Regions from separate parts of the Homo sapiens genome. Here region 1 is linked to region 2. Evidence: promoter capture Hi-C in human tissues and cell types (Jung and others, 2019). All regions are on one chromosome and are shown on one strand. Each heading gives the region's core, a stretch centred on a gene start or on the middle of the fragment in contact. The rest is flanking DNA. Distances are from core to core; before and after follow the strand shown.

Region 1 (4,474 bases), core at 1,975-4,474, 62 kb before region 2:
CCTTCCCTTTCCTTTCTGCTTTTCCTTGGAGTTACTAATTACCAATTTTTAAAAATTGTTTGAATTTCTATAGAATTGGCTGGGCACGATAGCTCACTCCTGTAATACCAGCACTTTGGGTGGCCAATGCGGGTGGATCACCTTAGGTCAGGAGTTCGAGACCAGCCTGGCCAACATGGTGAAACCCCGTCTCTACTAAAAATACAAAAATTAGCCGGGCATGGTGACACATGCCTGTAATCCCAACTACTCAGGAGGCTGAGGCAGGAGAATCCTTTGAACCCAGGAGTTGGAGGTTGCAGTGAGCCAAAATTGCACCATTACACTCTAGCCTGGGGCAACAAGAGTGAAACTCCATCTAAAAAAAAAAAAAAACAAAAAAACCTATAGAATTATTCTCAAACTCCACATGTGTAAATCTCAGACACATTCAGTTCTTCCTCTTGGAGCCTTCTGATTCGCTCCAGTAGGAAGTGGCTGATCTCTCAGCCTGCTGCAGAGCTGTGAGCTTGGTATTTCTGTCCACTATCTCTCTGGGATTCTTGTTTTCTCTCTTAACAAGCTCCTGTTCCTTGGATCCTATGTTTTCTTGAATTGCTCCTTCATATTGAGAGAATATCTATTCTATTACTTTTCTGAAAAGTTTTGCAAAGTAATGTTTTTGAAATCTTGCTTGTCTAAAAATAATTTCCTTCTACCCACACCCTTAATTGGCTAGGTAAGAAATTTAAACCTGGAAAGAATTTCTCTTAGTATTTAGAAAGTGTTACTCCATTTTGTTCCTAAAGCTTGGTATTGCTGTTGCATGAAACCTGTTTTCTCACCCATTTGAAAGTGATCTTTTCTTTGTGGTTAGAATTCTGAAACTTTACAATGATTTCTCAATAATCGCTTCAATTATTTAATGATTATTTCATCCATGCACCCTCAATATTCTATATCTCTTTTTTGGACTTTTACTATTTGGATGTTGACCTTATATTGCGTTTTTATCTATATATTTTATATATTTTTTCTATTTCTGATTTCTCGTATATTTATTTAATTTTCTTTTAAATAAATTTTACTTAGTTCTTGATGGATTATTACATAAATCTCTTTATGAGTTTTTCATTTTTTATTCTCCAAATTAGCTTTTTAATATCTATAAGTATTTCTTCTCTTCTGTCTCTGAAAATATCAAACATTTTTGAAGTTTTCTTCTCCTTGTGAAATCTTTGTTTCTTCTAAGTTACTGTTTTTGCTTGTTGGCTTTGTCTTCTAACCTTCAGATTCATGGCTGAAGTTTAGAAGAAGGTCTGGCAGCCCTTAGCTGCCTCTTGGTATTTAACTATGGAGGACCAAAAAGCTTTCTCAGAAGCTGTGTGGCAAAAATTCACTCTGACGTGATCTGGCTGGTTGTTTTGTTAAATGAAAGCCAAAGGTAATTCCTTTAGATCTTTTCTCTTGGGAAGATGATCGTAGAAGAATATGAGAAGACCTTTTAATCTCCTTTCTGATATTTAATTACACAGCTGCCAAAAATCTGAAATCCAAGTAAGGAAATGTGGCTGAGAGTCTCAACATTCAGTAGGTACATTTTACTCAATTCTCCTTGTTTTAGTATGCCACTCCTCCCCTCAAGTGACTCTTTGTCTCTTTATTCCGTTTTATTTTCCTTCTAAGCTCTCTTCACTGCATGACCCACTATATTTTCATCTCTTAGTCTATTTTTGTCTTCAATTAGAATGTAAAGTCAATAATAACAAGTTTTATTTTTCTTCACTGTTGTATCCCCAATGTCTGACAGCTATGCTTTGCACATAGTAGCTGCTCAATAAAAATGTATGTCATGACTTAGGTTAAATAATATGAAATTTCTGCTATTCATCTGGTTTTGAACTTCAAAATGGAAATCTCTTACATTTCAAACTGAATAAAAGAGGATCTGAATGGCTAAGGATTATCACCATTTTCCTTGTGATATGAAACTCATTATAGGAGGTATTAATATATTTTATAGTTTATTATATATAATTAATTTAAAAAATAGTAAATGGAGAAATACAAACTCAGAGAAGTTAAATGTCTTGCTGACTTGCCTAAGATTACACAATATTAGGCAGTACTGTAGTAGAACCAGGACCAGAATTTTGTATGTACCAGGCACTGTTAGAGATTCTGGGGATGAAACAGCGACTGTAATAGACTTCTGGGTATTTCTAGGAGTAAGAGAGACAAAAAAGAAGCAAGCAGCTGTAACAGGGTAGTGAATGAAATTGTTCTTACTTTCTTGAAACTTTAAGCGTCCCAAACTGAGGACAATATGCAATATGGAACCTCATAAACTAAAGAGCAACATGGAGCTGCCAAACACCCCTTCAGGGCCAGACTGGTTCTTTAATTTTCACCCCCCACAACTGCATCCAACCTGTATACACAGAAAACTGAAATTCACAGGCATAGCAGCACTGATTCACAGTAAGGGGTAGGCCTGGAAGTCAACAGTACTGTTGCTTTATTCCAGCTCTCTTCATATTCACGGTAGGGATAGGAAGAGTTTGGATTGTAAGTGCCTAGCCTGCCTGCTTGGACTACACTGTGCAACTGTTGCTTCAGAGAGACCTGATGTGGTGGAATTATGAGAAAACATGTAAAGCAAATCCACAAGCAAAACAATAGAAGAAAGCACATCTAATTCCTATTTTGCCCGTAGAGAAACTGTGAGTAAACTTGAGGTGCTGTCTTAGGGATTCACCTGTTTATGATATAACTCAAATTGGAGAGCTCCCCAACTATGTAGACCTAAATGAAGCCAAGTTAATGTCCACAATACACTCATTCACACTTCCAATTCCGGGTACCTATCTTTACATTTAAAGGAAATGAAGAACATCCGTTAGCAGATGGTAGTCTACATAAGGGCCCATGAAATACACCTGTGTCTTGCAGACCCCAGTTACAAAGGAAACAGCTGTTGACCTGGACCAGCATTTGTTAGTTTTCCATTAGCTCATAGTGTTCACTAGGCCATCTGTAGCATGGAACTAAGTAAATGGAGTCACTTTTCTATGGTTGGCTCATTTCCATAGCTCATTATGTAGGAAGGCTGATAAAGCATTATTGTGCCAAAGCATTAAAAAACTCAAGTTCTGGAAAAGTTTCCAGAAAGGTCATCATTAACAGGGCTAGTCAATAAGCTCCCCACCTCATGTAGATGCTGTACTAATCCTGTGATAGCCCATGGGGGAGGAGACCTCTACTTGAATCGCTGTCAACTGTTGATGAGGAATGGGGCAGAGGCTTAGCATATTCACATTTATTTTCTGATAGCACACTTCCTGCCCTCTCTACCTTTCTTCCTTTCTTCTTCCAGAAACATTTATTGTCACTGACATGGAGATGAAGTATTTTGAACGCTCAAGGTGCAAAATTAAACTTTCCTTTCATTATCTTCTATTAGGAGGCTCTCTGTCTCTTTCACTCACTGGACTGTAAATCACAGGAAAGAAGGAACCATTCTGGGTGTTGGGTTCTTGTTACCTATCATACCATCTGGCACATAGTAGGTGTTCAATAAATACCCATTGGTTGAAAGTATGAAAAAGGAATTTTGATCATGAGCCTAGACAACCAGTCTATACTGGTCTTTAAAAGCACTCCAGATTTACAGGCTGAAAATGGGATTAAAAATCCAAAGACAAACAGAAGAAAAAAACCTTAAACACAGCAGGATTTATGACCATTACAGAGCTAAAAGTACATTATATTCTAATACTAAGGCAGTATACCAGGCTGCCTTTGTTATCATTCATATAAACTCCTCTAGCTCACTTTCTGATTTTTCCTTCCAATAATTTGCCCTTGATTAACTTTGTTTTTTTAAACTAACATTTATTAAGTACCAATATTGTGCAGAAATGCTGTGCATTTGTTTTCTCCTGTAAATTACATGAAGCAACGTTCACCCCAATTTTGGAAATGGGAAAAATTGAAGCTCTCAGAGTTTAAGTAAGTTCTCACAGGTAGTAAATAGAATGGCTAGGATTGGAACCCAGGTTTATGGGCTGCTACAACACAGTTTGTTAAATATCAGGTGGCTCCTTCAGTGTTCCTTGCTATATACCTCACCCTTTTAAATTCCATTTTGGAAAAAATTCCTGAGAACTCTGTTCTTCAGTCCTTTATTTGTTTTTCTTTTGCCCATGAATCTGATTACATATAAGTTATACCCATGACCTTCAGTATTTTGCCAGACCTTGGCCAGGGGTGGCTCTTCTAGCCAATGGATATCATCATGGTGGTTGCCCTCGGAAGACATGAGAACCTGCAGGAGGAGGACTTTGGAAATTTGGAACCCATTGGCCCAGGGAAAGAGCTGAATATTTCTAGGGAGGCCAGACCCACCAGGGACTGCTGCATTGGTCATAAATGTAATACCATGGGACTTAGGCAGAGAACAAGCAAGCCTGATCCCAGAGTTGAGGAATAGCCA
Region 2 (4,434 bases), core at 998-3,497:
GAGATTTAGTTTTTGCTGTCTTCCCCAGTCTCCTCCTACACGGTTACCAGTGCTATTTAGCCTTTCAGTAGCTGCTCAAGGAATACACAATTAAATCCCCAGTGTCCACCCCCATAGGTCATACATGATTTGTATGATGTCCACAGTACCCACCAGCACAATTTCCTCTGCTACTCATACCCTCTTTGGGTCTCAAAAATTCCTAATAATTGCGTGCAATTCCCAGACTTACTACTAAACTGTATTATGTCTCACTGTTTTCCCACAAGCTGTTTTCTATGCCTAGACTGTCTTCTCCGATCTCATTATGTGCTCCTGGCAACCTTTGACTTCTGTTCCCGGAGCAAATGTTTTCTCCTTTGGGCAGTTTTCATTCACCCCTCCCGAATTCCCTACTACTTTCATTCCTTCAACCAATGAATATTGAGACTTCAAGTACAACTTCTATGATTACACAAATTACAATCAGTTGCAATCATTTATCTCTAAGCTAGTCTCCTCTAGATTCTTGATTACTTGAGAGCGTTTCTTTCCCTCCTCTTATTCCTCAGCCCCTAACACGGAGCCTGGCACGAGGGCAAGGGCTGGCCAAAAGCAAAAGACTCATCTGCTGCTGGGACACCAGGAAGCCAATCTGCATTGATTTTCCTTTCGGGCATTTCAAAGACAATTTGGTTTATAAAGTTGAGAATGAAGCCTCTAGCAAGAGCAGGCGAATTCCCCAGAGGGTTCGGTCTACAGAATCGCCAACGCCCCCGCCGATTACTCATCCGTGACTCCAGCGGCGTCTCAACCACCACCTCCAGAAAAAACGCGCCAAAATGTTTTACAACTGCCTCCTCCCACGCTTCAATGCAGACCAACTTCCCAAGCAGGGGGCGAGGGCTTGATTCCGAGCCAAGGAAAGGAAAGCTCTAGACTAGAAGTCACACTCCCTAGGGTCCCCTCGGAATCGCTCAGCTATAAGCAGTCTCCCACTTAATGTCTTGACGCCCACCCACCTCCAACCAGCTACCTATCGACCAAGCCTTCACTTGGACAGGCAACAATAAGCTGAAATTCCCGGGAAAACGATTACGTACTTGGCTGAAGAACAAGAAAGAAATAGATCCCTTCCCCATAGTCAGTTCGGCATCTCGACCCTGCAGTGGGACTGGCCGGGCAAAGTTATGAAGCTTGGACTTTATAAGTTCCCAGTGAAAAGCCGGAGCTCCCTAGAGAGTCGCGGGGATAGATGGTCCCGTGTCTTTCACCCACCATTTCTCCCCCCAGCTTCCCAGGCTACTCCGCGGCCTCCCAACCTCCTGGTCGCGAGTCCCAGCAGCTGGCACTCTTCCAATGCCCTGGGCGTGCCCTTACAGGCTGCCAGGGCGGACAGCCCCAAGCCTGCTTAGCCCCTTGCATCAGGACTTGGATCTGATGCTGCCATATTGAAAAGAAGGCAACAGCCGGCTCCTGACGCAGACCGCCTCAGTCCCGGGGGATGGAGCGCACTGCTTCTCCCGGGGGCGCTTGGTTGGTAAGAGCTTGAGTGTATCTCAAGTTCCCTGAACAAGCGTGGAGGGATTTTTCTTCCAAACCGCGCGGGAACGGATTTCAATTCTAGAGCGGCCAACAGTAAGCATAAGCCCTACCCAGCTGCAGCGGCTTCCTTCTGCTTGGCTGCGCCCAGCCTAAACAGTAAATAATGCAAGCTTTCTCTCTCTCCAAGCGCGACAGGGGCGAGGGCTGGAGCAGCTCCTTGCTCTTTGCTACTCTGGGCTCTGGAGAGTGCAACCTGGGGCTCCCACTTGGAAGACCGCGCTCCAGTCCCGCCAGTCCCCTGGGGCCCCAGAAAGTTTCTTGAAAGTGGAAACTCTTACCTGACCCAAAAGGTCATAGCCCAGCTCCTCGGCGATGGCCGAGGCTGCTTCCGGGCCCCCGGGGATCTCCGCTGCCCATTCATTGACAAATTGCCTTTTCGCTTTTGCACTGTTCAGTGCACACCAAGCGCAAAAGAGGACGAAAGCAGTGCACTGCAGACTCCAGGCTCTTCGCTCCATAGCTCACACACTCGCTTGAACAAGAGTGGGAAGGGAAGAGGAAAAAGAAGCAAGATAGGAGAAAAGCCAGACAGACTCCCCCTTCCCACCCTCGGGCTCTAGACCACTCCTGGCTCCTGGTTGCTCTGCGAAGAGCTAGGAGGCGCGAGAGGAGAGGCTGGGCGGCGGCGAGCGCTCAGTGAAGCGCTTCGGTCTCCAGGCTGAGTGGAGCCCCAGCCCTTCCCAGCCAGAATGGAAATGAGTGTTTACACGTCAAATCGACGAAAGCCATCTCTTGACGTCAGATCTACCTGGACTAAGATCCGAATGGTATTCCCGGCGGGGCGGAGAAGCGGCTAAAATAAGCAGCCAGGGATTAGGAAAAGGAAGGAACTGTTTGCTGGGATCAGTTAAGTCTGCTCCTTGTCTGCCCATAAATTCTGTACCGTGAGAAACATTTTCACTTTTCAAAGAGAAGTGCCCCACTTGAACATAACTACCAAGAATCAAAGGCTGGGAGTGCTTTCCCTCCCTTCCATCCATTTTCTCTGTATTTACTTTATTATCTCATGTGTGTGGCGGGGAGGGGGGGAGGCTATAGGATTCTTATAATGGCCCTTTGGGCATCAGCACCTGCTATGAAGAACAAGGCTCTTAGGTCTTTCAAAGAGAGAGGCTAGGAGAGTAAGGAGAAGAAGGGAAGCTACTACTGTCCCAATTCTGTTCTAAATTGTCTGAGAAAATTAGCATGTCTATGTTAAAGCAATACTATTAAAAATGAATTTTTAACCATTCAAGCCACCTTAGTTTACAAGTTTACTTCCCTCCTCCCCTTTGTTTCTCAACCTCAGTAAAACAATATCAGTAGTTATACTCCGATATTGCAAAGCCAGCGCCACCACCACCTTTTAGGGTGTTTATCAGTAAAATGATTAATCATGTGATTTTAAAAAAACATATTTTTAAGAATTCGTCAACAAGGGGATCTAGGATCCCAAAAGCTGTTGTGTTGATTCAGGGAGGGAAAGAGCAGTTTTTATTTACCTCGACTTTCCATTGTGCCTCAGTAGAGCTCTTCACTTTGGTGCTGAGCTGGAGCTGTGCCATTACTTTCCCATAAAATGCACAATGCCTCTTTGTGGAAAAATGGTTTCCTGTGGGAGGAGAGCAAGGAAACATCTAAATGAATTCTCCACCCCTCACCCTAGGGAAGTGAGTTCAGTCTCCCATGGTGGAGCCTATTCGAACCCTGAGGGATTGAACCTGGCGGGAGATACCAGTGCCTAGTATTCAGCACCGAGGTCTGGACAGCGACACACGCAGGACTGCCGCAGGAGCTGCTCTCTCTTCTGAGCACCAAAGACCTCCACCCTTCTGCAGCTGGCCAGCACCAAGCTGTTTTCCTTTTGATATGTGCATTTCCCTCTTTTGAACAGCAAAATAGGAAATTGGCCGCAGGGGGGAGTGTGGTTAGGTTCATGATCGTGACAACTTGTGTCCAGCTCTTGGGAACGTGTTGGACTCAGGCCAAAAGTAAAATCGCCGGGAGGTGGAATTGAGAGAGTATGCTGCACCTGGGAAGTTTGTTTTTTTTTTTGTTGTTGTTGTTGTTGTTTTTTAAAGCTCAACCGCCCGAGGGCGCGATCTATGCTGTAGAAATAGAAGAAAGGGGAGAAGGTTGGAAAGAAAGCATATAAACAAGTGGAGAAAGGAAGCAAGAGATGTTCCTTACAAGAAGCAAATGAGACAAGACTTGGTGGAGGATCAGGCTCTGTAGTGCTAATTTTTCATTTGCCTCCACGTTTGCAGAAATGTGCACTACATAATTTCTTTAAACATAAAGCATCTTTACAAAATCAAATGCCAATGTTAATAAGCCATGTGACATGGTTAAGTGTTTTACAATAATGTAACTCACATGAGATGAAATGGAATGGGCTCCGATTGATAGCTTTGTTGTCTGTTCTGTAAATCCACATGTGTGAATGTTGATGGCTGGGTAAGCTGTCTTCTTTTCCCTTCACACCTCGGCCTGAGTTGTGGCCTCAAGCTCTCAAGGGTGTTTCATTCTCACAGCAGACAGACACTAACTGTGCACTAGCAAGGCAAGAGAAGCCCAGGGCAAATGTTTTATAACGGTAGATGTGTCAGAGGAGGAACATATTTGTCCCTTTCTTATTATTGTTCAAGTAAATCAGTTTGGCAGAGTGTTGGCAATAGGGTCCGTGTCTCTCTCATTAATGAGGCATTTGTCTTAAATGGAGCACCATAGAAGCCTGGAATAAACATTTGGTTTATATACCTAACAGGGCCAAGTAAACTCTCACAAAAAGAAGATAATATCCTCATCCACACAATACAGATATCAGTAAGTTAATCTGCTATTGTCTGATTTTTATCCTATGAACCTCTT

The links. The method cuts DNA at HindIII sites, captures the fragments that hold promoters and counts their contacts. A contact is called where the count stands out against the background at its distance.
Region 1: a fragment that was not itself captured here is called in contact with the fragment with the promoter of PCSK1 in region 2 in 1 of the 25 tissues and cell types used here (pancreas).

The regions. Positions count from the first base shown.
Region 1 is chr5:96,368,141-96,372,614 of GRCh38, forward strand. The region is part of intron 3 of LOC101929710 (a long non-coding RNA gene); the gene reads left to right. It also overlaps a transcript of CAST not described here. Among named protein-coding and RNA genes, the nearest start is that of PCSK1, 63 kb to the right of the region's middle. The HindIII fragment of the contact is 8,912 bases long and covers 1-4,474 here.
Region 2 is chr5:96,431,001-96,435,434 of GRCh38, forward strand. It overlaps PCSK1 (proprotein convertase subtilisin/kexin type 1), which reads right to left and starts at 2,248. Exons shown (of 14, transcript NM_000439.5): 1 at 1,863-2,248. The coding sequence starts at 2,042. The region is part of intron 4 of LOC101929710 (a long non-coding RNA gene); the gene reads left to right. It also overlaps a transcript of CAST not described here and the pseudogene LOC102724070. RefSeq lists silencers at 3,125-3,419, 3,281-3,400. The HindIII fragment of the contact is 6,406 bases long and covers 1,435-4,434 here.